Linked DNA regions of Homo sapiens: regions 1, 2, 4 and 5 are each linked to region 3. The links are contacts of gene promoters, found by promoter capture Hi-C in blood cells and fetal thymus (Javierre and others, 2016). All regions are on one chromosome and are shown on one strand. Each heading gives the region's core, a stretch centred on a gene start or on the middle of the fragment in contact. The rest is flanking DNA. Distances are from core to core; before and after follow the strand shown.

The links. Contacts are between HindIII fragments. The CHiCAGO score rates a contact against its expected background, and 5 or more counts as called.
Region 1: a contact is called between the fragment with the promoter of IL10RA here and the fragment with the promoter of FXYD6-AS1 in region 3, in 6 of 17 cell types (naive CD4 T cells, M1 macrophages, monocytes and 3 more). The highest score is 7.6, in naive CD4 T cells.
Region 2: a fragment that was not itself captured here is called in contact with the fragment with the promoter of FXYD6-AS1 in region 3 in 14 of 17 cell types (non-activated CD4 T cells, naive CD4 T cells, total CD8 T cells and 11 more); the score reaches 11.1 in non-activated CD4 T cells.
Region 4: a fragment that was not itself captured here is called in contact with the fragment with the promoter of FXYD6-AS1 in region 3 in 6 of 17 cell types (monocytes, M1 macrophages, activated CD4 T cells and 3 more); the score reaches 7.3 in monocytes.
Region 5: a contact is called between a fragment that was not itself captured here and the fragment with the promoter of FXYD6-AS1 in region 3, in 1 of 17 cell types (non-activated CD4 T cells). The highest score is 5.8, in non-activated CD4 T cells.

The regions. Positions count from the first base shown.
Region 1 is chr11:117,983,422-117,987,955 of GRCh38, forward strand. It overlaps IL10RA (interleukin 10 receptor subunit alpha), which reads left to right and starts at 2,973. Exons shown (of 7, transcript NM_001558.4): 1 at 2,973-3,113. The coding sequence starts at 3,047. RefSeq lists enhancers at 2,401-2,460, 3,851-4,150 and silencers at 2,651-2,750, 2,771-3,050. The HindIII fragment of the contact is 8,039 bases long and covers 1,686-4,534 here.
Region 2 is chr11:118,070,406-118,075,319 of GRCh38, forward strand. All of the region lies in intron 1 of SMIM35 (small integral membrane protein 35), which reads right to left. Among named protein-coding and RNA genes, the nearest start is that of TMPRSS4, 4.2 kb to the right of the region's middle. The HindIII fragment of the contact is 763 bases long and covers 3,041-3,803 here.
Region 3 is chr11:117,831,124-117,835,927 of GRCh38, forward strand. It overlaps FXYD6-AS1 (FXYD6 antisense RNA 1), which reads left to right and starts at 2,595. Exons shown (of 3, transcript NR_186291.1): 1 at 2,595-2,938. The region is part of intron 6 of FXYD6-FXYD2 (FXYD6-FXYD2 readthrough); the gene reads right to left. The HindIII fragment of the contact is 9,424 bases long and covers 1-3,840 here.
Region 4 is chr11:117,968,629-117,973,271 of GRCh38, forward strand. No RefSeq gene overlaps it. Among named protein-coding and RNA genes, the nearest start is that of IL10RA, 15 kb to the right of the region's middle. RefSeq lists a silencer at 4,190-4,604. The HindIII fragment of the contact is 956 bases long and covers 1,199-2,154 here.
Region 5 is chr11:118,033,148-118,038,080 of GRCh38, forward strand. The region is part of intron 1 of SMIM35 (small integral membrane protein 35); the gene reads right to left. Among named protein-coding and RNA genes, the nearest start is that of TMPRSS4, 41 kb to the right of the region's middle. RefSeq lists an enhancer at 359-438. The HindIII fragment of the contact is 6,184 bases long and covers 1-4,782 here.

The DNA.
Region 1 (4,534 bases), core at 1,723-4,222, 150 kb after region 3:
GGCAGTCAAATGCCTAGGCAGATAGGGCGGGTCCCTGGTGAAACCCCACCTCCAAGTTGAAGACAACTTAAAACCTGAAAGCCAAGCTGCAAGTTAAATCTTCAGACCAGATTGAGAACCTGTCTTCCCATTTGGCACGCTTTCCTCTGATTGATCCCCACCCTTCACCTACTTTACATACACCTACCCTTTCCTAATTGGTTTTCTACACTGTCGTACCCACCTTTGAGTGGTATTTTCACTTTAACCTTTTTTGCATACTCACAAACCAATCGGCATGCACTCCCTATTCTGAGTCCAGAAAAAGCCCTGGATCCAGCCACACTGAGAAAAAAAAACACCCAACTGTGGGAGCGGGGAACCACCCCCCTCCCCATCCCCTCTCTGCTGAGAGCTGGTCCATCACTCAATAAAATTATTCTCTGCCCATCCTCACCCTTCAACTGTCAGCGAATTCTCATTCTTCTTGAACACAGGACAAGAGCTCAGGAACAAATGAAGGTACAAACTACAATACAGGCAGGGCGGGGTATGGCCGGGTGGGTGGGGCAGCAGGCCTGGAGTGGGGCCTTGCTGGCCAGAAATGTCCTGAGCCCCTCTTCTTTGGTTTGTCTGAGAACAAGGGCAGGGCTTGAGGGATGCACACACAGTCCCAAACACACATATGCACTTGGCAAACAGACAACGTTCTCCACACCACAATGAAATCCAAATCCACAGACTGGCCACTGCAAATCATATATGACTGCAAGTGCACACACACACACACACACACACACACACACACACACACACTTTGAAGCAGGTGTCAGCCTCCAAGAAAAAGTGATGGACAGTCTGTCTCTCATATCCTCACATATTTGGTTCACCTGGAGATGGCCTCAGATGAGCCAAGTGACACAGAGGTGCGAGAGACTGAGGATGTGCTGAGGTGTTACCCAGCACTCCAGTAGTGCTATTACCCAACACAAAAATTGGTCTGAATATCAGATTTCAAGCAAGCAAGGGAAACCCAGAAGAGACTGGGAGAAGTCCTTATGGAGGCTAAAGCAACTCCATGTTGGATGCTAATCCACAGTTTTGGCCGTGTTGGCTTTGGAGCCTCCCAGAAGACCTCTGAGATTCCCAATTTATCAATTGCTCCTTGTGTAAGTGCAAACACTTACTGTAAATCCGGCCCTTAGGTCAAACAACCTTGATGTTATCATACTTCAACTGTCCTACACATCTTTTCTGAATCACCCTTCCCCTGTGGTCTATAAGCCCTGGTCCTGGGGGTGAATCATGGAGACACAAACGTAGCTTCTGTTTATAAGTCCTTATTAAATGTTTTTTTCGAAGAAACTGGATGTGTCAGCCTGTAACCTGCAAAAGGATCTGGCTGCTCTCTGCTTGTAGAAAGAATGGATAATAAAGGAAAATCTGCTAGCTGCCATGCTAGCAGGGGAAGAGCAGCAAACAATTCCACTCTTCAATTCATGGGGGGAACGCAGGGGTTTTTTAAGAAAGGATCTGAAATGCAGAAAAGGCAAGGGGGAGGTTAGGAGGTACCAGGTGGTGTGACTTGCTCCAGTGGTCCTCTTTAATTATCGTCTTATTTGGTGGAGGGGCTGGTGCAATCGTGGATCCTGCCAGGTTATAAATTAGTTACTCTTCAGCAGGGTATATGTTCAACTCCTGAAGTAAGCTTTTGTTGGAGAGAGAATTCCGGAGGTGCCTGGTCCCTATCAGGACGCAGCTCCTGAGGCATCTAAGGAAATATATGACCAGGTAAGAGCATAGCGTGTGCTTAACAAGCACGTAGGTAAATAAACGTGCGTAAGGCATGGGAGTACAGTATGGGACAGGAAAGGGAGTGGAGGTCACAGCACGTCCTGAGGCTGTGTTTTAAGATGAGAGGTAACATACATGCAGTTTGTCTCAAAATTATATCTTGAGGCCCAGAGGAGGAAGAGAAAAAAGGAAAGAAGAGAAACTAAGTTTAAAACACGGTTTAAGGCTGGGCGCGGTGGCTCACCCCTGTAATCCCAGCACTTTGGGAGGCTGAGGCGGGTGGATCACCTGAGGTCAGGAGTTCGAGACCAGCCTGGCCAACATGGTGAAACCCCGTCTCTACTAAAAATACAAAAATTAGCCCAGGCGTGGTGGCACATGCCTGTAATGCCAGCTACTCGGAAGGCTGAGGCAGGAGAATCGCTTGAACCTGGGAGACGAAGGTTGCAGTGATCCGAGATCACGCCACTGCATTCCAGCTTGGGCGACAGAGCGAGACTGTAAAAAAAAAAAATAGATAAAAAAATTTTAAAAATCGCGGTTTGAGGCTCAGCTGCTGAGCTGCTGGTTAAAAGCCTCTTTCTTGGGTCTCTCAGCTTCCTGGGACTTTGGGGGCAGGTCTGCATAAACTGCTTAGTTGTGGACCCCCCTCCAACAATTAGGTAGGGGACTACTCAGTATTCATCCATCGGTGTCCTCAGACCCCCAGACGGGGAGGCCCTGGGGCAACGCCAAGACTCACACCGGCGTCCTGGCGCCTTTGCCCTCAAGGGCCTGCAACTACCTCCTCCCCATTCGGAGCGGCCGCGGCCACATCCTTAACGCCAAGCCGGCACGCCAGGCAAAAGCGGCTCGGACGCCCTCACCCCACCTTCCGCACTCAGGGCCGAGGCTGTGCCTGGCCACCTGCTTCCCAGCACATGCACACACGCGCGCGCGCACACACCCACACACACGTACCCACGGCCGGCCGGGCTACCCGGACCACTTTGATCCGAAGGCACTGGAGGCCCAGAGGGAAGGAAAGGGAGGGGTGGCCGGAGCCCGCTAGCGCCCCAGGACAGCCTCGGGTTGCCCCAGGCGGTAGCCCTGTGGGACAGTGGTTCCCCGTCCGCGGCCTCGGGGGCGGGGCGTCTGTAGGCCTCGCCCCGCTGACGTCAGCCCTGCGGGGCGCTGGCGGAGCGGGCGGCGGAGCTGTCAGTCCCAGCCCAAGGGTAGCTGGAGGCGCGCAGGCCGGCTCCGCTCCGGCCCCGGACGATGCGGCGCGCCCAGGATGCTGCCGTGCCTCGTAGTGCTGCTGGCGGCGCTCCTCAGCCTCCGTCTTGGCTCAGACGCTCATGGTAAGGCTCCGGGACGCGGCCCTTCCCTGCCCTGCCCTCTCCGCGCCCGCTCCATTAAAGTTCTCCATCCAGTGGAGAGCCCTGGCTGGCTGGCCCTCTGGCAGAGCGGTGCCCGGGTGCTCCCTTACTCTGGCAAACCTGGATCTCAGGCTCACCTGTTGTGGAAGTGGAAGAGGCTGAAATTGACAGGAACTGACGGATTGGGAAGGATAGAGAAGTATGCGCAAGGCCAAACCCCCAACCCGCAAACCTCATCATCCACCCACTTCTAGATGAGCCGTAAGTTTAGCTCTAGGTTTTTTGCTGTTTAGGTTCAAATGATGGGACTTCTTGTCCCCTTGGGGAATAATTTTGATCTCCTGACTCTCCCTTCTCTTAGTCGACTCTTCAACTAACCTCTGTCTGTCCTTCTCCCATCTCACCTTCATCCCTCACTGATCACCCCGATCTGATCCCCCTTGCTCCACCTGTAGCCCCCAACTCACTCCCACTGCCCCCTGCCTCTCTCCTCCTAACCCAGCCAGTTCAGGCTTCTAACCCAGTTCAGGCTCCTAACCCAGACAGTTCTCCGGCAAGGTTTCTGCAACTAAGAAAAGTAAACCCCAGAGACAGAATGAAAGAGCCGGGAGTTGGAAGGACCAAGAGCAGAGACAGAGAGCAAGGACCGAAACTGCTTCTTCATGACACCAAAATACAAAGTAAAACATGCAGTCAGCCATTCACGTGATCGAGAGCTGAGTCGGAGATGTGCAGCCCAAATACCACAACGACTCGCTGCATTTTTCACTTTCCGTCTAATGTTTCGAAATCAAGGCACTGACGTGAAGATCAAAGACGGTATAAGAAAGAAAGCAAGAGACAGATGACAGAGTCCTCCCCCCCAAAAAATAAATAAAAAACAGGTGCATGATTAGAGAGATGTAGAGAAGTTAGAACACTAGGGAGCGGGAGCAGAGTCGCTGTCAAATGGAGAGAACTTAGAGGATCAAGGAGGAGAGAAAGGGAACCAACCAGCCGTTGGCCTTGCACATACTTCAGTCTGCTTGATCAACAAGACTCTTAAAGTAGAAATGTTTGTTGCATTCTTACAAAGAAGACAATGCCTTCAGCAGTGTTTCCCATGGTGAATGGTGTGTACTGGGGGTAAAGGGAGAGTAGAGCTAGGAATTGGTATTGAGTATCTCTCCTCGGAGCTACAGGTGCCAGCTCTTGTGGGGATGTCCTCAGCCATGTGTAGAGCCAGAGCTGATTTATTCCATCTGTCCTTGCCCAGCCAGAGGTTGGACATCTGGCTATAGGCAAAGCCCTCCCAGAAACTAGGGAATGAGGCAAGCACTTAGCTTGGGGAGCCCAGGAGACCTATGAAGAGAAGGAGGCAGATGTCAGCAAGCAGGCTGTCTGTGTACTTAGTGAGGTGGCTT
Region 2 (4,914 bases), core at 2,172-4,671, 240 kb after region 3:
ACCTCAGGTGATCCATCTGCCTCGGCCTCCCAAAGTGCCCGGATTACAGCCGTGAGCCACCGTGCCCAGCCTCTAGACAGATTCTTATTAAAAACACTGTCAAACACTGTATGTTCATGGTCTGGAGTTTATAGTGCATGTAGGATGGAAAGCAGTATGTCCCAGCTCCACTGTCCTTCCTGTGTCTTCTAACCCTTGGGCTGCCCCAGGGTGAAATTAAGAGTATCCTGGAGAGACAGATGAAAAGAAACGGGATGGACTCACAAATAATCTGAAATTAGTTCATTGCCTAATTAAAGGGGAGAGGACTGAGTGAACAGGATGTTCACTGAGACTGCCGGCAAATTACACGGACAATATGGAAACCGGAACCGAGGCAAACCCAGGCAGGACTCTGGTGCTACAGGAACCTGAGTCCTTCCCAGAGGTCCCCAGTGGGCTGCAGAAGCCAGTGTAGGCCCCCTCCAGGATCTACGCAGGGCCCACCATGCATGGTCTAGGGCAAAAGGCCTAGGCATCCTGGGTTACACCGACCTGGATCTCAACCCTGCCTGAGCCTCAGTTTACTCCCTTGTGAAATGGAGGTAATAGCAGCACCCACGTTATAGGGTGGCTGCAAAGACAAAATGAGACAATGAGACTTCTTTCCACAGGCAAAAGAGCCTGGCACATGGGAGCGCACATTATATGGTAGCTATTTCCTTACCGTGTGTGGCTTATTTGAAGAAAATGCGTCCTGCCATTCTGTCAGACTCATGCCTGTCTTCCCCTCACCCCTACCCTCAAGTCAGGCATGTGGAAGGGAACACCTGTTCATCCTGGCAGGGGCCAGAGGAAGGTCAGCTCCCACTGAACAGAGGTGACTAGGGCTCAGGGTTGGGATCCAGGTTTGGGATTTTCAATTGCCTCGATTCTTTGGTACAGATAATTGAGGCTCAATTCAACCGCCTCTGAGACTAAATGATGTCTTAGGAGAAGGACTGCTAAGCAGTAGAAATCCTTTCCAGAAAGCTAGTGAATCAACAGGGAGCCTGCTTTGCATCCCCTCACAGTGAGCCAAGGTGCCTCCTGTTGGCCCCTGTAAAAAAGACACTGGGTTCCCTCCACGCTGCATTCCAGAGCTGCTTGGTATGAGTGAGCCTGGGCTGTTGCCAGCTCATGCCCACCCACTGCGCCCTTCTCTACCTAATTTCTTGGAAGAGATGTGAACAAATGAGCCAGTCACTGAAACTGATCTCAATTTACTTGGGTTCAAAGGGAAGAACCATAGGCTCTGCTGGCTGGAAGGAACCTCAGGGGTTCATCTATGTCAAGCTCCAGTCTCTGAATTCAGCTCACTTCAGAAATAATAGCCTCTACCCACTCCTGAGTGTGGGAAGAGACCTAGAACAGCATTGCTCAAACTTTAAGGTGAATTCAAATCACCTGGGGATCTTGGAATGCAGACTCTGACTGAATAAGAGTGGGGCGTGCTGAGATTCTGCACTTCTAACCAGCTTCCAGCACTGGTGGCATTGCTGGGTCCATGGGCACACATACCTTGAGCAGGAAGGATCTACAGGGCTTGCTGCCCTCAGAAGCTCCTAGAAGGGAAGGGCAGTATATGGGCAGACTGAGCTCTTCAAGGCAGGAGATATTTTATTTTTCCCAACCACAGTGTCTAACCACATTGTCTGATATCATCATAGAAAATACTTGCTGGCTGGCTGGATGGATGGGTGGATGGATGGCCAGGCACATATAGACAGATGAGTGGGTGACTGCTGATACTGAGATCAAATGCACAATCAGAAACAACTGGCAGCCAGGCACCGTGGCTCACACCTGTAATCCCAGCACTTTGGGAGGCCAAGGTGGGTGGAGCACCTGAGGTCAGCAGTTCGAGATCAGCCTGGCCAACACGGCAAAACCCGTCTCTACTAAAAGAAAAAAGTTAGCTGGGTGTGATGGCAGAGACCTGTAATCCCAGCTACTCCGGAGGCTGAGGCAGGAGAATTGCTTGAGCCTGGGAGGCAGAGGTTGCAGTGAGCGGAGATCGTGACATTGCACTCCAACCTGGGTGACAGAGCTAGACTCCGTCCTCAAAAAGAAACAACTGGCAATTGATATATCATCCTACAAATTACTGTAGCTAAGCAAAAATATCTAGGGGAAAAATGAAGGCAGGAAGAAAGAAGGAAATCAGGCAGGGAGGAGAGGAAGGAGGAAGGGAGCAGAGAGAGCTGTAAAAATGAAAAAAGGTTTCCAAACCCCCAAGTGTTCTCTTTTTATCTCTACTAGAACATCTTTTTAAGCTTACTGTGATGTGTGGATGTCTCCTGTCTCCTTCAGTAGACTGTAGGGTGTTTGTATTCAGAGCCTGTGTTTTATCTCCTAATCCACAGTGCCTAACACAAGAGGTAGGCCTAGCATGAGCTCCATAAACACACATTTTGTGAAATGAATGGGGATAACAGTGCCATTTACAACATCTCTCTTAGGCACCAAACACTTCACATGGAAGTGAAGGTCTTGTGTTGTCGTTGTTGTTTTTGAGACGGAGTCTCGCTCTGTCACCCAGGCTGGAGTGCAGTGGCAAGATCTTGGGTCACTGCAACCTCCACCTGGGTTCAAGCGATTCTCCTGCCTCAACCTCCTGAGTAGCTGGGATTACAGGCACCCTCCACCACGCCCGGCTAATTTTTTTGGTATTTTTAGTAGAGTAGTTTGGTATTTTTAATAGAGGTTTTGCCATGTTGGCCAGGCTGGTCTCAAACTCCTGACCTCAAGTGATCCACCTGCCTTGACCTCCCAAAGTGCTGGGAATACAGGCATGAGCCACTGCGCCCAGCCAGGATTATCTCTTAATCTTCATAACAACCCTATGAGGTCAGAAGTATTGTTATCCCCACTTTACAGATGAAGAAGATGGCGTGCAAGAGGATTAAATAAGATGCCCATGGTTACGCAAATCATTAGTGGCTGAGATTAGGAGGCAGGACCCCAGGCCACTAGAGCTCAAGCTCTTGACCAGGGAGGATTCAGGTTTTGAGAGGCCTGAAGCTTATGCATTTTGAGGGGCTTGGTTTTTTTCAAAAAGCAACAGACTCTTTAATGTGGTTTAAAATACATCCAGATCAAGTCCCCGGCTGTTGTGAATGCCGAAAAGAGACAAAAAAGCTGCCGGTGCAGCTTCAAACAAGTCTGAGCGTCAGGCTGGCCCATAAGGAAAGCAGTTGCAGGGACAGGAGGCAGCCCCCTCCTCCAGGAAGGGCAACAGGAGCAGCCGGGTGCCTGCCTGTCCCTGGGGTGACCGCCTCTGTGCTGTGCAAGGCGGGAGGGCTGTGGCAATAGGCCTTGGACCTCCCCCATGGACACCAGCGAGTTCCCCTGGCCTCTGGGTCAGCCCTCAGCAGCGCCGCCATGATGGGGTGGAGGAGGGTTAAATAACCATCTTTACAGAAATAATATTCTCCTGCAGAACGTGTCTGAGCTCAGACCATTGTCCAGAAACCTCATAGAAAACAAACAACAAAGTTTTTTAAAGTGCTGCTGACACCTCTCAGAATCTGGTGTGCATAGAGCTCTCAGCTGGACGAGACCTGTTGGTCCTTAAACTGAGGTCACCTGTATGGGACCAGCCTGGGTGAGGAAGGCTCTGGCCTTCACTCACAGGGATAGGCCACTTCTTGAGGGGCTTTCTTGAAGAAAAAGCACGTCAAAGAAATATTCAGCAAAATTTACAAAAACGTATGATTGTGTGAACATATTGCCGGGCCCTTTCCCAGGGCCCTGGAAGGAACCGTGCAAGTGAGGGGCTCTGAAGCTTCAGCTTCAGGAGTTTCATGATAACTCTGCCTCGGATCTTGACACACATGCTGGAAACAGATAAGGAAAGGGAAGAAGGAAGAGAAAAAAATGTCAAAAATAAAGAGGAAGAGATAAAAGAGAAGTAATGGGAGGGAAAGAAGAGAGGAAAAACAGGAGGAGGATCTAAAGAGATGGATGGGCAAGAGAAAGAAGCAGGCAGGACAGGGCTGAGGGAGAGCTGAGGCTTCCTCCGGGAGAATGGGGGTTCTGGGCCGGGTGCGGTGGCTCACACTTGTAGTCCCAGCACTTTGGGAAACCAGAGCGAGTGGATCGCTTGAGCTCAGGGGTTTGAGACCAGCCTTGTCAACATGGTGAAACCCTGTATCTACAAAAAATACAAAAATAAGCCAGGCATAGTGGCTCACACCTGTAATCCCAGCTACTTGGGGGACTGAGGCGGGGGAATCCCTTGAGCTCAGGAGGTGGAGGTTACAGTGAGCTGAGGCTGCACCACTGCACTCCAGCCTGGGCAACAGAGGGGGACCCTGTCTCAGAAAAAAAAAAAAAAAAAGAATGTGGGTTCTGGTCCAGCTGGTTTTCCCTGGCACCTGGGAGAGGTGGGCCTCTGTTGTCTCCAGGCCACTGTGCCTCCCTCTGTAAACCTTCACCCCCACCTGCAGGCATCACAGCCACCCTGCCCAGTCCTGCTTATGTGCCTTCTTCCCGGACCTCTCCACAAACTCCCAGACCCAAATGGGAGCAGAAGCCAGGAGGGCTGAGTCATCATCCCTCCAACCAGCCATGCCCAGCAGCCTTCATGCCCAGACAGCTGCCTCTTTCCTGGTTCATCACCTGAGCACCAGGTAAAGCAATGCAAACCTGTGGGCCAGATGTTTAGCCTGGCACATAGAGGAACCAAGACAACTGAAAACGTGGCTCCCAGTGGCCCACTGGCTTCTCACTGCCCTGCTGCTGGGGAGGTGCCTGCCTGGACCATCACGGCCCTGACCCTGAGGTCACCTGAGATCACAGGCTCTTGCCTCTGCCCAAGACTTCCAACTCTCAAGGCCACCAGCCATCAGTAAGGAAGGGCTGGGGCTGTGCTGGCTCCAGAGCCCTGCAGGC
Region 3 (4,804 bases), core at 1,345-3,844:
GGCCCTTCCACCTGTGGCCCATGTTCCTGAGAGCAGCTCAGTTCAGGAGGGTCTCTCCTCCTAGACACCACGCAAGGCACCCTGAGGGCCAGACACACCCATGCATAAATCCCCTTTCATCCTGAGACTTTGCTGAGGACTGCCTGACCCTGGGCAAGGGCACCCCTCTGGGTCTCCTCCCACCTGTAAAATAGGGTAATAACACCTACCTTGCAGTATTGTTGTGGGAACAGAGGCAAGGTAGGTCAAGCGTTTGGCCAGAGAAGGTCCTAAAAACTGATGGCTGTGTTTTCCTTACTCCGAACTGAGCCCCCCAGGAGACAAGAACACTCACAGCAATCCCTTCCCTTGGCTCAGTCCCCAGTTGCGGTGATCTCTAAAGCAGGCCTCTGGGAGCACCCTGCCCTGGTATGATCCTGCTGGCCACAACTCACCCTGCATCTCCAGCCTCCCTTTCTTCTCCACACAAAACCAAGAAACCTCCTTTGTCTAATGGTTCCAGGATGGAGACAAAGGAGCATCCAGCTGTGCTCTCCTGTTCTCTGCAAGACCCAGAGCTCTGGGAGATGTTGGGAGGTAGAGGCAGTGCCCACTCCTGGATGCGTCAGCACTGTCACAGCTGATGGGACCGTGCCCTCAGTGGCGAGGCCTCCATCTCCCCTGTCTCCCCTAGGCAGGCCTCCCTTTTGTCTCCTGACTCCTAAGTCTCAGGGCAGTCATTTGGGGTGGTCGTTGCTGGGTTGGTGGGGCAGGGAGGAAATAGGCTGGAATCCAGCTGACCTCTGTTTTCCTGGTGATCAAAGGCAGAGGCCCTCACCACCAGCTTCCCAGAATGGGGTTCTCCAGCTCCGCCAGCTCTGGCCTTTGTGGGAGTTTACAGCCTTGAACTCCAGGTCCCCAGATCAGTTCCTCCTGGTGTTGGCTTGCAGCTGGAAAGGGGCTCCAATGAAGCAGAAGCCAGAAGCACCTAGAAAGCCATGACCCCAGGCCCAAGTCAGTCCTCAGCTGCATAACCCGTATGGCCACTGGGCAGGGAAAGTGGCAGTTCCCAAGCCCCATTTGTCCCACTCAGAGGTCCTGAATCCTGAGGAACGCTGGCTCCTGCCTCCTGCTATGGTTGCAGGTGCCAGGTCCCTGGGGTCTTATAAGGCAGGGCTGGAAGGAGGTGGGCCCCAGAGGGTCCATTCCTTAAGTGTTGGCTTCAAGAAGGCCTGAGCCATGGTGCACAGAGGTTCTGAGAACTGCCAAAGGGCAATGTACTCTGAGAGTCAAGGTCACCAGCTGGTGACAAGGGCAAACCCATTTGACCCACCTCCCCCACAGTGAATGCCTTGGAGAGAAATGCATTCTTGACTGTTCTCAGAACTCACATCCAGGCTTGAACCACAACAGAGCCCATTCCTCTCCAGCTTTTCTTGGTTTTCTCCTCCCAGTAACCAAACTCCCTCTCACCTCTGGGAGAGGCTCGCCACCTCCGGGAAGACCTCGCGGAGCAAGCCCACCCCTGGTTACTCTTACCTTCCCTCCACCACCTTCCGGATGCCACTGACATGGCTTGAATGGCCAGCATGTGGCCGTGTCACCATTCTCTTCATTTATAGCACAGATTGCCAAGTCCCTGGCCTCCTTGAGGCCTCAGGTCGGGTAAGCTGTTAAACGTTTGTACCTGCACTGAGCCTGGTGCCCACTCTCCACACTTGGCAGCAATTCCACCCTATTCCAGGGTCTCAGTGGTTCCAAAGAGCTGCTTAGAGCCTCCCAACAATTCAGCCAGGCAGGCTGTGAGATGCCCATTTTACAGAGGACACTGCAGGTGGTCTGCAAACAGGTCAGAACATGAACCCAAGTCTAACAGAGACAAGAGGAACCCGGCCATCAGAGAATGAGGAGACAAGGAAATGGATAGTGATGCCAACATTTATAGCATAATGGCTACATGGAGAATTGTCACGGTGCTTCGATGTCCATTGTATCACTTTGACCCTGTGAGATAACAGAAAACATCTTGATGCATTTATTTTATAGGTGATGAAACTGAGGCTTAAGTGGCTTTTCCAGGGTTACACAGTGAGCAGGAGGCCCAGCTTACCCCAAAGCTAGGAAGGACTTGATTATTCAGAAAAGGAAACTGACAGAGAGGCTGGGGTCTTTCCAAGCTCACACTGTTAGAGCAGAAGGGACCTCGGGGATGTTCTGAGCCTCAGGCTCTACCAGACTGCCTCCAAGCCCAGCTCAGAGGTAGGAAACCGTTCTTCTGGATAGTGCAGGGGGGCCCACCCCCTCCAGTCCCTGCCATCCAGGTCCTTCAGGACATGCGATCACAGCATCACCTGCTCTGCCATCATTGCCTTGGCAGGTGCCCCACTGTTGTGCAACCAGGCCCGGGGCTGGGCTGGCCCCATCAGATCAACAGCTGGTTGGCTTGAGCCGGCTGAGTCTGCCCCCCTGGAGCTCAGCTGTGACAGCAATAAATCACACTAATGGAGAGAGGTGGCCATTCCTTCTCTGTGGCCTGGAGACAGGTTTTTCCAAAGCTCCTCCCCTGGCTCAGGCAAACACACCTGACCTTTCTCTCGCTGGGCCCAGGGTGAGGCAGAGCAGCCAGGAACAAGGTGGGGTGAACCAGACAGAGCTGGAGTGCTCTCCCACCCCTGCTTTGCCCAGCCTCCCCGCCAAGCCCATGATTCCAAGCAAGGTAAGGCCCTCCTCCCAGAGGAAGGGGCCAACAGCCCGGTGACCTTGGAGTGTGCTTCGCCTGGCACTCCCCTCACACCGCTCCCTACAGCTTGTACTCTGCCTCTGACTCTCTTCCAAGAACAATTTGGCAAGTTCTAATCTACATCTTGCAAAAAAAAAACAAAAAACAAAAAACAGAGAGGTAGGAGGGCCACAGCACCTGGGGTCCCAGAAGGCAGACTGACCTATTCCTACAGCAGGGGTAAGTAACGCAGAAAACCTCCAGGCAAAGAGACATGGAGATCTTCGAAATGGAATGGGGGGTGGAGGGAGTCACTGGGAGGCAAAAGGTGTGGGACACCTGAGGTTACTGAGACAGGGAACTTGGGATTCCCTTCTGGGAAATGACACAGCATGGCAGCTGTCCTTCTTATTCAGTCAAGCTACATTGCCTCATTAAACCAAATCACAGCTACAAACCAGTGCCACATGCCTGGAGGCTGAGTGGACACTCCTGGTCCTCCTCATGGAGATATATAGCACTCTGAGTTCTGATCCAGCTCATCTGTGTGAAGTCCTCAAACAAGCACATAGTAAGTGCTCCATAAACTTCAGCTGCTCATTTTTTTTAATTATTACCATTTTGACCATCATTTCTTCGATTGTTCTTCATGTGTCTTGTTTCCAGACCATTAGACTCCCACAGGAGGCTCCTTGGAGCATGGTCCAGCTAGTTTATGTCTTGAAGGGGCAGCCATGCTCCAGGTGCAGTCTTGGGAGCCATCTGATCACTGTCCCTTCTTCTGAGCATCTGCCTGCTGAAGGAGGCTAGGCCATGTGCTGACAAGCACTATGGACAGACAGCCCGGGGTCAAGTCCTAGCTCCTCCATCCCCCAGCTGTGTAACCTGGACCAGGACGATTGTATCTCTGACCAATCTCAGAATATAGCTGGATTACTAGGAGGAAAACTAAGTGAGTGCTTAGAGGCGGGCAAAGTAAGGATAACCATTTGTAGATGATGTGCTAGAGATGCTGACCATCATTCCTTACTCTTAACATAATTATTATGAGAAAAATTAGAACCTCCTCATTGGACTTCCTTATTCCTATGTCGAAGTATAATGTTCTGTTTTTACTAACGTATGGGGGGCGGCACACACAAAGCTTTGCATGTCTAGGGCCTCTAGGGATCTCAGCCTGGCCTCGCTATGAAATTTCTGCAAGGCCTGTCAATTCCCTGATGTATCACGAGTGTTCCCGAACAATAAGCTCATTTACCAGGTCTTGCTGTGACCAGATAGTTTTTAATCGCCATGATCACTGGGTTGACAGGTTGAGCTTGAGCTCTACCATAAGCCTGTGTCTTTCCAAAGGCCTGGGGGACCGAAGGCAGAAGCAAGAGCACACGTAGAGAAGGCACCGAGCAAGCGGATCTGTGCGGTTCTTCGGTTCTAAACAACTTGCGGAATCCAGGCGGACTCAGGGCCTGTGTGGCCACTGGGCAGGGAAGGTGGTGGTTCCCAGGCCCATCGAAACCACAAGGAGCACTGACTTCTGTCTCCTGCTATAGCTTCAGGTGCCAGGTTCACTGGGGTCTTAGAAGTTGGGGCTGGAAGGAGGTGGGCCCAGAGGGTCCCGCTCCTTAAGTGCTGGCTTCAAGATGGAAGATATTAAGACGTTCCAGGGGTCGATTCTTTTTTCAAGACCCTAAGATGTTCCAGGCTTCTGTAGAGCAGGCACAGTCCTTGCCCTCCAGGAATTGTATCAATAAAGACACAAAACACTAGAGGCAGAAGCTGCACACAGGCAACCTCCACGCAGAATCTGCCCACATCTGTGTTGGTTTGGCCAACAGTGGTTTTTAGAAAGTTGAGTCAGAGTGTCTTTGGGAGGACACCGTAGGTGACTGCAGGTGCCATGCCCCATCGTCACTCCAGCAGATTCACATATTGGCATTACCTGCCTGGTCTCTACAGTCTGGATGCCAAGTATGAAGTGTGAATATAAAGGCAGCAAACAAGTGTGATTGGGGCACAAGAAAGGGATTCGGCTGGGCGCTGTGGCTCACGCCTCTAATCCCAACAATTTGGGAGGCTGAGGCAGGCAGATCACTTGAGGCCAAAAGT
Region 4 (4,643 bases), core at 427-2,926, 140 kb after region 3:
TCTTGTCACATCACATGAAGGGTGTATACTATCAACGTAACTTACTGCTATTGATTTTCATCTTATTCAGCAGGCTGACGTTGTTTGTTGGCTTCTCCACTATAAAGTTATTCATTCTCCACTTTCTATGCTGTATTCTCTGGAAGGAAGTCACTGTACAGCCTGCACTTAGGAAGTCACTATGTGCAGCCTGCACTTAAAGAGTGAGAAGGTTTTCTTCCTCCACCACCATTGATGGCAGATTATCTATGTAAGTGATACGAAATTCTTGTACACGGGAGATCTGTCTCTTCTAATAGCTGAAGTTTTAAATATTTTATTCAGAATTTATAACTGTTATCAGCCAAAGGGTGTTTGGAAATAGCTTGTACTGGAATAACCCTTTGGCTGATAACAGTTTATAGACTCTGAGCGGGATCTCTCATATCTAACATTTGTTGGACACTTACTTGGTACCATGCACTGTCCTAAACATCATTCACATATCTTATTTCATTTAACCTTTGCGATAACTCTACATAGTATTATTATGCCCATTTTATGCATAAAGAATCAGAGCCCTACTGGTGAGCCCCACTGCATTCCCGTGTGTGCCTTGCACACCATACTTTTAAAATTTCAGTGAATTTCCTTGCCGTATTTGTCCATGAGGGTTTTGTGCTGCTAGGTGAGCCCTGCTCTCACTGGTCTTGTTCATGCATTTCTGGTTCCCCCCCCTTCCTTCCCTGCTGGGCCTGGTTGTGTAGTAACTGGGTGCCCAACTCAGCATGCTCCAGAGCCAACCCCAGAATTCAGTTCCGTGATTTCTGATAGGTGCCTGAACTCTCAGACACAGACTATGAGACCCTGGCCACCATAACAGTCCCAGGGAATGAGGGGCCATAGCCTGACACCTCCACTCACACATAAAGTACCCTTGCCACCCAAGGGCAAAAACAGCACCTCACACCTATGAGGACCTGAGAGATCTAGAAGTCTGTTTCACACTCTGAGCAAAATCCCCCACCCAGATGTTAAAAAGGCAAGAGGGCAGGCAGGGAGTTGAAGACTCAAAAGCCACTATGGTTGGAAAAGAAAACCAAACCAAACAATTTGTGGACGGTTAACCCACCTGCCCACAAAACAACCCTTAAAGAAGGACCCATGAGGTATGGTGGGGCTCAGCCAATTTTCACAAGTATGAACCATTTAACGCTCAAGCTTTCACCCCTCCTTACTACCACCCCTAGTGCTTTGTGCTGGGCACCACAATGAGGTGAAAAGACAGCTTGGGTGCAGAATCTCATTTGATTTTTACAAAAGCCTTAGGAGGATGCAGGGCAGGGATTCATACCCTCACTTTATCATAGAAATGGAGGCTTAGAGAGGTCAAGTGATTTGCCAAGCATGGTCCAGTAAGTGAACATGCTGTCCAACTCCATCTTGGACTTTATATGGAATGGCTCAGTGGAAAAGACTGGAGCCATTCCCATTAAAAAACATCAAGTAGAGGCACCTAATAATAGTGGCCGATCAACAAAGATGCACATGAAACTGTTGGTCAAAACAGCACATTCTTCCCAAAGCTGGAGCACTTAGGAAGATGAGAATGTCTAGTGTTAACCAAGGAAGGTTCTCCATAAGCAGTGTTGAGTATTCTGCAGAAGGGGGGAAGAGAAGGCACAAAGAAGGCCAAATAGCTGCACACTCCCAGGACTGTGTCCCCACTCTCTGACTGCCATCTCCTAGAGAGCTTGCCTGGCTGGGGTCCCCATACAGAAATCATCTGGTGGCCTGTGCAAGGAAACAGCCAACCTCAGAGTTCTATTCCCACTCAGACATGTCTCTGCGGGTTGCCAGCATATGGCCCACTGCCTAGCACACAGTGGGTGCACACTAAATGTCTGTTGACTGGAATTAGCTGATAAATGTTTGCTGACTGAGGCACAGACAGGTGAAGTCACTCTTCCAATATTACACAGCCAGTAAGTAGCAGAAGTGAGATTCAACCCAAGTCAACAGACTATTCAGCACTTAACCCTCTCTGTTTTCCCCTCCACCATACAGCCTCTTGCCCCAAGGACCAGAATAATGTTGTTTCCTCATCCTATTCCTTCTCATTCCCAACACAATGTGTGCCACACGGTAGGCTCATAAGAAGTTTTTGTTGACTGAAGCTTAGCGGTCTGCCCCAACACTGAGCCTGGGGAGTTTCCTTATTAAACCACAAGCCACACTGAGCAGGAAGTGGAGGGATGGGCCTGAGTCAGGAATAGGAGGAAGAGGCCCTGGATACAGAGCAGTAGCCAAGGGTGAGGACTGGGGTAGAGGGTGGGGAGGAGGCACACCACAATAGTCTCCACACAATCTTTGAAACCCCACCCGCCACCCCAGGCCACCCCAAGCCCTGCACAACCTGCCAGAGCCAGCCATACCTCCGTTCTGCCATCTGTCCCCTCCACCTGGAAGTCTCTTCCTTCCCTCTTTGAAGGGAAGGTTACCCCAACTCATGCAGATTTAAGGGTACTTCCTCCTGGAAGCTTTCTTGGCCTCCTTACCAGGTAAAACCCCAAATACAGGCTCTCATGGCACTTACCACAGTCGCAACTCTGCGTTTTATTTGAGTGACTATTTGATTCACATCCATCTCTCCTTCTAAACCGCAAGCTCCTGGGGGGCTCTCCTTTGCTCACCGTGTATTCCCAGCATCCTGCACACTGCCTTGCACTGAGGAAATAGCCAGTGACCCTGTGTCGAATAGGGAATGACTGAATGAATATAGAGATGAATGTTGAAACTGGAACACTCTCTGTGGTAGGATGAAAATGGCCCCCAAAAGATATCCAGACCTAATCCCTTGAACCTGTGAGTGTTACTTTATATGGGAACAGTGTCTTTGTATATTGGGTCTTGAGATGGGGAGGTTATCCTAGATGATCAAAGTGAGCCCTAAATGCAATTGCATTGGAGCTCTTAAGAAATTTTTGGTATAAAAAAGAGGCAGGGAAAGATTTCACTCTCACACACACACACACGCACACACGAAGGCTAGCCACCAGGAGCCAAAAGAGGCAAGGAACACATTCCTTCCTAGAAAATTCCAGCCCTGCCAGTACCTTGATTGCAGCCCAATGAAACTGATTTCAGACCCTCCAGAACCAGGAGAGAATTCATTCCGTCATCTTAAGCCACCCAGTGTGTGATAATTTGATATAGCCTTGGGAAACAAATACACCTGACCTCCAAAACCCTCCTCACCCTGACCCCCAAAACCCTCCTGCCTTCTCCGTGTCTAAGCACGTCAGATTTATGGGGGATGGAATAATCTAGAATAATCTGAAATAATTTTAAAAGGAAAAAAGAAAAGGGGATCAAGAAGAAAGAGAGGAGAGGGTGAGTGTAAGGAGGGCTAAAGCCCGAGTGTGCAGGGGGATCATAATTTACTCAGAAGCTGCAGGAAGAAGAGCCCTATGTCCATGCCTCTCTCGACTCTCCTCCAGGGAATGTTCTCCACAAGTGGGGGAGGCTGAGAGTTCTCGAGTTCCCTGTCTGTCTCTCTGTCTGTCAGCCAGTAGCCATGAGCCCCATGAAGGAGCCATCCCTCACTTAGGTGGGCCTCACTCACTGGGCGCCAACCCCTCCCACACCGGCCGGGCACGCCCTTACCTGGAGGCCTGGCACTTGCTGTTCCCTTTGCCCACAACACCCTTCGTTCAGATATCCACACGGTTCATTCCTCACATCCCTTGGGTCCTCATTCTAATGTCACCTACTGGGGGAGGCCTGCTGCCCACTCTATTTAAAATGGAGGTGGAGGCCAGGCGCAGTGGCTCACGCCTGTAATCTCAACATTTTGGGAGGCTGAGGCAGGTGGATCGCTTGAGCTCAGGAGTTCAAGACCAGTTCGGGCAACATAGGGAGACCCTGTCTCTATAAAAACCTAAAGAAAAAAAGGAAAAAAAATGGAGGTGGGGGAGGGAAAAGGAAAAAAGGAAAACAAAAAGGCAGCCCTCCCTCCCTACTCCCTAAACCCCTTTCTTACTTTATTGTTCTCGGTGGCGCGTATCACTGTCTGACATGCTACACATTTCTCTCATGTATTGACTCTTGGTGTCCGTCTCCTCCTGCTGCAATGAACACTCCATGTGGCAGGAGTTTTGTTTGCTTTGTCTGCCTCGAATGAAGCCTGGTATGTGGCAGGAAATCAACAGCTATTGAAGAATAAACACTCTCAGAGGGCATTTCTCCAGGAAGATGGAGGCGCTGGGGTGAGCAGATGGGAGCGGGATGATAAAGTCTCTGCTTCAGAAGCCACCAGCCCAGCCACGTCTTCTGCAGATCCTCTGTGCCAAATGCAAACCCTGTCAAGGCATTTCTTACACTTTCTAGTAATTTTCATTCCCACAGACCCCACCCCTGGCTGCCTTGGGCTGTGAGCCTCCCACAGGGGGAATTGGCAGCACCCAAACACCTGCCAGTAGTCCCCAAAGTTGGTTCTTTCCCTGGCAGCCTTCCAACTGGACCTACTGCTGGAATTGTCCCACTTACTGCTTTTTGTCTGTGGCTGGTGTGCGTGGGGCTGGCAGGAGCAGTCAACAGGAATAGTTAGAGTCAGACCTGGGCTTACAAGCCAGCTGTACCACTTATGGAGTTACCTTGGGAAA
Region 5 (4,933 bases), core at 441-2,940, 200 kb after region 3:
TGTTTTATTTAATTCAGGCTTTTTAATTTAAAGATCTGTATGAGGGATTGTTCTTGATTAGCGATTAACAAGGATTCTAGAACACATAGACAGACTTCAAAACAGTTTTGTCAGGACCATGTAGCTGAGAAAAGCCTCTTGTTTATTAATTTAGGTCTACGTTTCGATGACTTTTTTCTCACCCAAACCTTACCCTGTGGAATACTTTTTAAAATCTACCCTTCTGTTTTGGTCAAAGTCCTTTGACAAGCATCAGACTTAGAGGCTTTCAACACAGTTTAAATAGAATTTAAATTCGATAAATTCCTGTGTATTTTTTTTCCTATTTCTTTACAAACTGCCTTCTCTGTATAGTCAAGGGGTTTTTTCTGTTTTGTTGTTGTTGTTGTTGCTTTGGCTTCCAGAAAATGTCCCTGTAAAATCAAGAAAGTTTAGGGCAAGGCCTGCACTTACTCAAACATGGAAGGGTGAACGCAGATTTTGGGTTTCAGTGATCTCCTGATACCGAAAGAAAAGTGCCTCCCTCCCTCGGGGGCACTTCAAGATGACAGTTTCAAAAGGCACTTCAGGTGAAAGTGTAAATGAAATTTCAAAAGACCATCAGTCAGTAAGAAATCATTCATAGAATTCTACAATCCTTTGGCAATATAGAACAAAAGTTAAGTGTTTGGGTGCTTGTGCCAAACAGATGTGAACTTGAATCTCAGTTTTACCAGTTACTTACAATGTGTCCATGAGCAAGATACTTAATTTCTCCGAAACCCAGTTCATTTGTCTATGAAATGGAAATAATAAAAGTACCCTAACGCCTGGAATTACCATAGATTTATTTAAAATAGGCCAGGCGCAGTGTCTCACTCCTGTAATCCCTACACTTTGGGAGGCCGAGGCGGGCAGATGACCTGAGGTCAGGAGTTCAAGACCAGCCTGACCAACATGGTGAAACCCCATCTCTCCTAAAAATACAAAAATTAGCCCAGGCATGATGACAAGCACCTGTAATCCCAGCTATTCAGGAGGCTGGGGTAGGAGAATCGCTTGAAACCAGTAGATGGATGGAGGTTGCAGTGATCTGAGATCGTGCCATTCATTGCACTCCAGGCTGGGCAATAACAGTGAGACTCCATCTCACACACACACAAAAAAAGAAATAAAATAAAATAATACATGTCTACTACAAATAAAGCACTTAATAAATATTAGTTGTTGATTACTTTTTTAAAAAATTGTCACTGTCTCAATTTATATTCCAAAAACTCACCATTCCAATTATGGGTTACAATAGGCTTAGGGGGCTCAGCCCAGTGGCTCATGCCTGTAATCCCAGCACTTTGGGAGGCCGAGGCAGGCAGATAGCTTGAGCTCAGGAGTTCAAGACCAGCCTGGGCAACATGGCAAGACCCCCATCTCTACAAAAAATACAAAAATTAGCTGGGCGTGGTGGTTCACATCTGTAGTCCCAGCTACTTGGAGAATCGCCTGGGAGGCAGAGGTTGCAGTGAGCTAAGATTGTGCCACTGCACTCCAGCATGGGTGACAGAGCGAGATCCTGTCTCAAAACAAACAAACAGGCTCAGTGTCCACAATGTGAAGGGTGAAAGTAGGAGGGAAATGGCTGCTTTCTATATGCACCAAGCTATTCACCCAAAGAATGACAAGGGGGACGAGGAGCCAACCACCTTATTATAACACCAGCCCAGGATGGAACTCTCAGGGAAGCTCCCCTTGGAATATGTGTCCATTAGACTTGCCAGTTAGTAAGTCCAAATTGCGGTTATGAATATAAGTGGTGAGGAGTTTCCTTCTGAATTTTTTTTTTTTTTTGACAGAGTTTCACTCTGTCGCCCAGGCTGGAGTGCAGTGGCACAATCTCAGCTCACTGCAACCTCCAACTCCTGGGTTCAAGCGATTCTGGTGCCTCCGCCTCCTGAGTAGCTGGGACCGTAGGCATCCGCCATTGTGCCCAGCTAATTTTTGTATTTTTAGTAGAGACGGAGTTTCACCATGTTGACCAGGCTGTTTTTGAACTCCTGACCACAAGTGATCCACCCGCCTCAGCCTCCCAAAGTGCCCGTCTGAAATTTAAACAACTTTTCCACCAGTTCCACATTAGCTCTAAGTAGAGCCCCAGGACTTTCTCCCTGCCCACCTCTCATGCCAGCCCTTGAATTCTGTGCCCCAAAGAGCATTAATTTCCATACTCAACAAGGATTTATGGAGTTCTTACTGTGTGCCAGGCCCTGTACTAGACACTGGGCATAGAGTGGTCAAGGCACATAGGAGCGCTGCCTTCATGGAGCTCATGTTCTATGAGGAGGTATGTTCAACAGATCAGCACCCTAATAATCGGTTGCTCAAAAACGTATGTTCTATGAAAAAGTACAGGGGGTCCAGGTGCCATCAGAACAGAAGGACCTGCGTGGGTGGGGCATGCCTGCCCCTGCCAGTCTCTAGGGGCCTGGCCAGGCTCTCCCCAGCCAGTCTGCCCTCCTCAGGTGTGGAGGAGTCTCTGGGCCCCAGGAGGATTCCCTCCTGGAGACTCACACAGTGCTCCCTGCTCACGTGTTGTCACAGCCCAGAAATGACTGAAACAAAGCATTCTCCTGGACCTCAGCATGGGGGATCCTCCAGGCAGGTGCTAAGTGTGCAGCCGTGGGGTGGTCAGTGCTTTATGCCAGCACTTCTGGAACTTCTGGATGGATATAGGGACTATCATTAGTATCCTAATATGTGGTGTTTGTTTGTTTGTTTGTTTGACAGAGTCGAGTCTCGCTCTATCGCCCAGGCTGGAGTGCAGTGGCACAGTCTCGGCTCACTACAACCTTCGCCTCCTGGGTTCCAGCGATTCTTCTGTCTCAGCCTCCCAAGTTGCTGGGATTACAGGCACCTGCCACCATGCCTGGCTAATTTTTGTATTTTAGTAGAGATGGGGTTTCACCATGTTGGCCTGGCTGGTCTCAAACTCCTGACCTCAAGTGATCCACCCGCCTCGGCCTCCCAAAGTGCTGGGATTACAGGCATGAGCCACCATGCCTGGCCAATACGTGGTGATTTTTAAAAAACCATAAAATTGATTCACAGTCCACTGACCCTTACAGATCTAGATATACCCTTACCAGAGAGAGAACTCTGATGAGGAAATGCTGGTAAATTACCATTTTTCTAATTGCTGGTGAGTCTGACACTTGGTGAGTTTTCAGCCAGTTTGTTAAACTTTTAATTAAGTTTTGTTTATAATAAAAATATAAATGGATTTGAAAGTTTCCATTTTTTTAAGTTACCTTTGTTTTACAAAGGTATTTTCTAAACACATCTTTAATGGACTATTTAACTGAATTTAAGGAATTCACACATGACAGCTGACAGGTCTTCATGCAGGCTGATTGGTAACGTGCTGCCAGCACAGGGCTGGGTGATGCATACACCCTAAGCTGGGGGTGCCTGGGGAGAAGGGCGCTCCTTGGAGTGCCCCTCCAGCTGCAGGGCAGTGAGGTGCCACTTGTGTGAGCCATCAGGGAGGCAGCTGGCCATGGGGGCAGAGGGTAGCAGGAGCATCATGGGGCCTTTCCATCTGGGCTGGTTCTCTGCGATGGTGGTGTCATGCTTGCCTCTGCTCCTTTTTTTCTTTTTTTTCTTTTTGCAATTGCAAGATTTAATAGAGTGAAAACAGAGCTCCCATACAAAGGGAGGGGACCCAAAGAAGGTAGCCATTGCTGGCTCGAATGCTTGGGTTTATATCTCGATCATTGTCTCTTCTGCTGTGCTCTCAGGCAATAGATGATTGGCTATTTCTTTACCTCCTGTTTTTGCCTAATTAGCATTTTAGTGAGCTCTCCTTACTGGTTGGGTGTGAGCTAAGTTGCAAGCCCCATGTTTAAAGGTGGATGTGGTCACCTTCCCAGGTAGGCTTAGGGATTCTTAGTTGGCTTAGGAAATCCAGCTAGTCCTGTCTCTCAGTCCCCCCTCTCAACAGGAAAACCCAAGTGCTGTTGGGGAGGTTGGCCAGCGACCACTCTAACTGCTTCCTGCTGAACTGGGGTGTAGTAGCGGTTGTGCAGTTGAGATTTTCTCAGGAGGATGCCTTCGATGTCATTAACATCAGAGCATAGGCTAGCAGGCCGGTCCAGGGGTCCATGGACTGCATCTGGGGCTCCATTTGAAGAACCATTTGTAGCTTTACAGCTTTGATTCTGGAAGAGACAAACTTAACAAGGAGGTTAAGATACAGGGTCCAAAGAGGAGTAACAATATTATAGCTGCTAGAGGTCCTAAGAAGGGGAGAATCCAGGGCATCCATTGGCTGAGGGGGCCCCAGGGTCCGGTGTTTTGAAGCTCCCCTGCTCTACGTTGTATGCGATCTCGAATTTTTTTAAATTTCTTCTCAGTGACGATTCTGGATTGATTAACATAATAACAGCATCTTTCCCCTAAAGATAAACAAGTTCCCCCTCTTTCGGCGGTTAGCAAGTTTAAAGCTCTTCGATTTTGAAGGACTACTGCTGCTAAGGAGTTAAGTTGATCTTGCAAGGTGACCAGGGAGTCGGCGACCTGTTCCATGTCACCATTTAGTTCTTGAGATAGTTTGTGGTAGAACTGAGTAGAGGTTGTAATACCGCCAATGCCAGTACCTAGTCCGCCTAGTACTCCTGCTCCAATAACAAAAGGAAGAATGGGTACTCTTTCATTGTTGCCTCTGCTCCTTTCATCTAGAAAGAAGCTGCTGACCCTGACAGCACACCTAGGGCACACCGAGTGGCTGCATTGGTGCTGTCACTTTTTTAAAGCTTTCTGTCCAGACTTCAACTCTGGTTTCTTTTCAGAGTTGTGGAGGACTGATGACTTCCTCAAACCCTTGCTGTGGGGCTGAGGGTGATGGTCATGTCCATTTCTTATGTATTAAAAGCCCTCAGTGATTCAATTAGATTGTCCCACT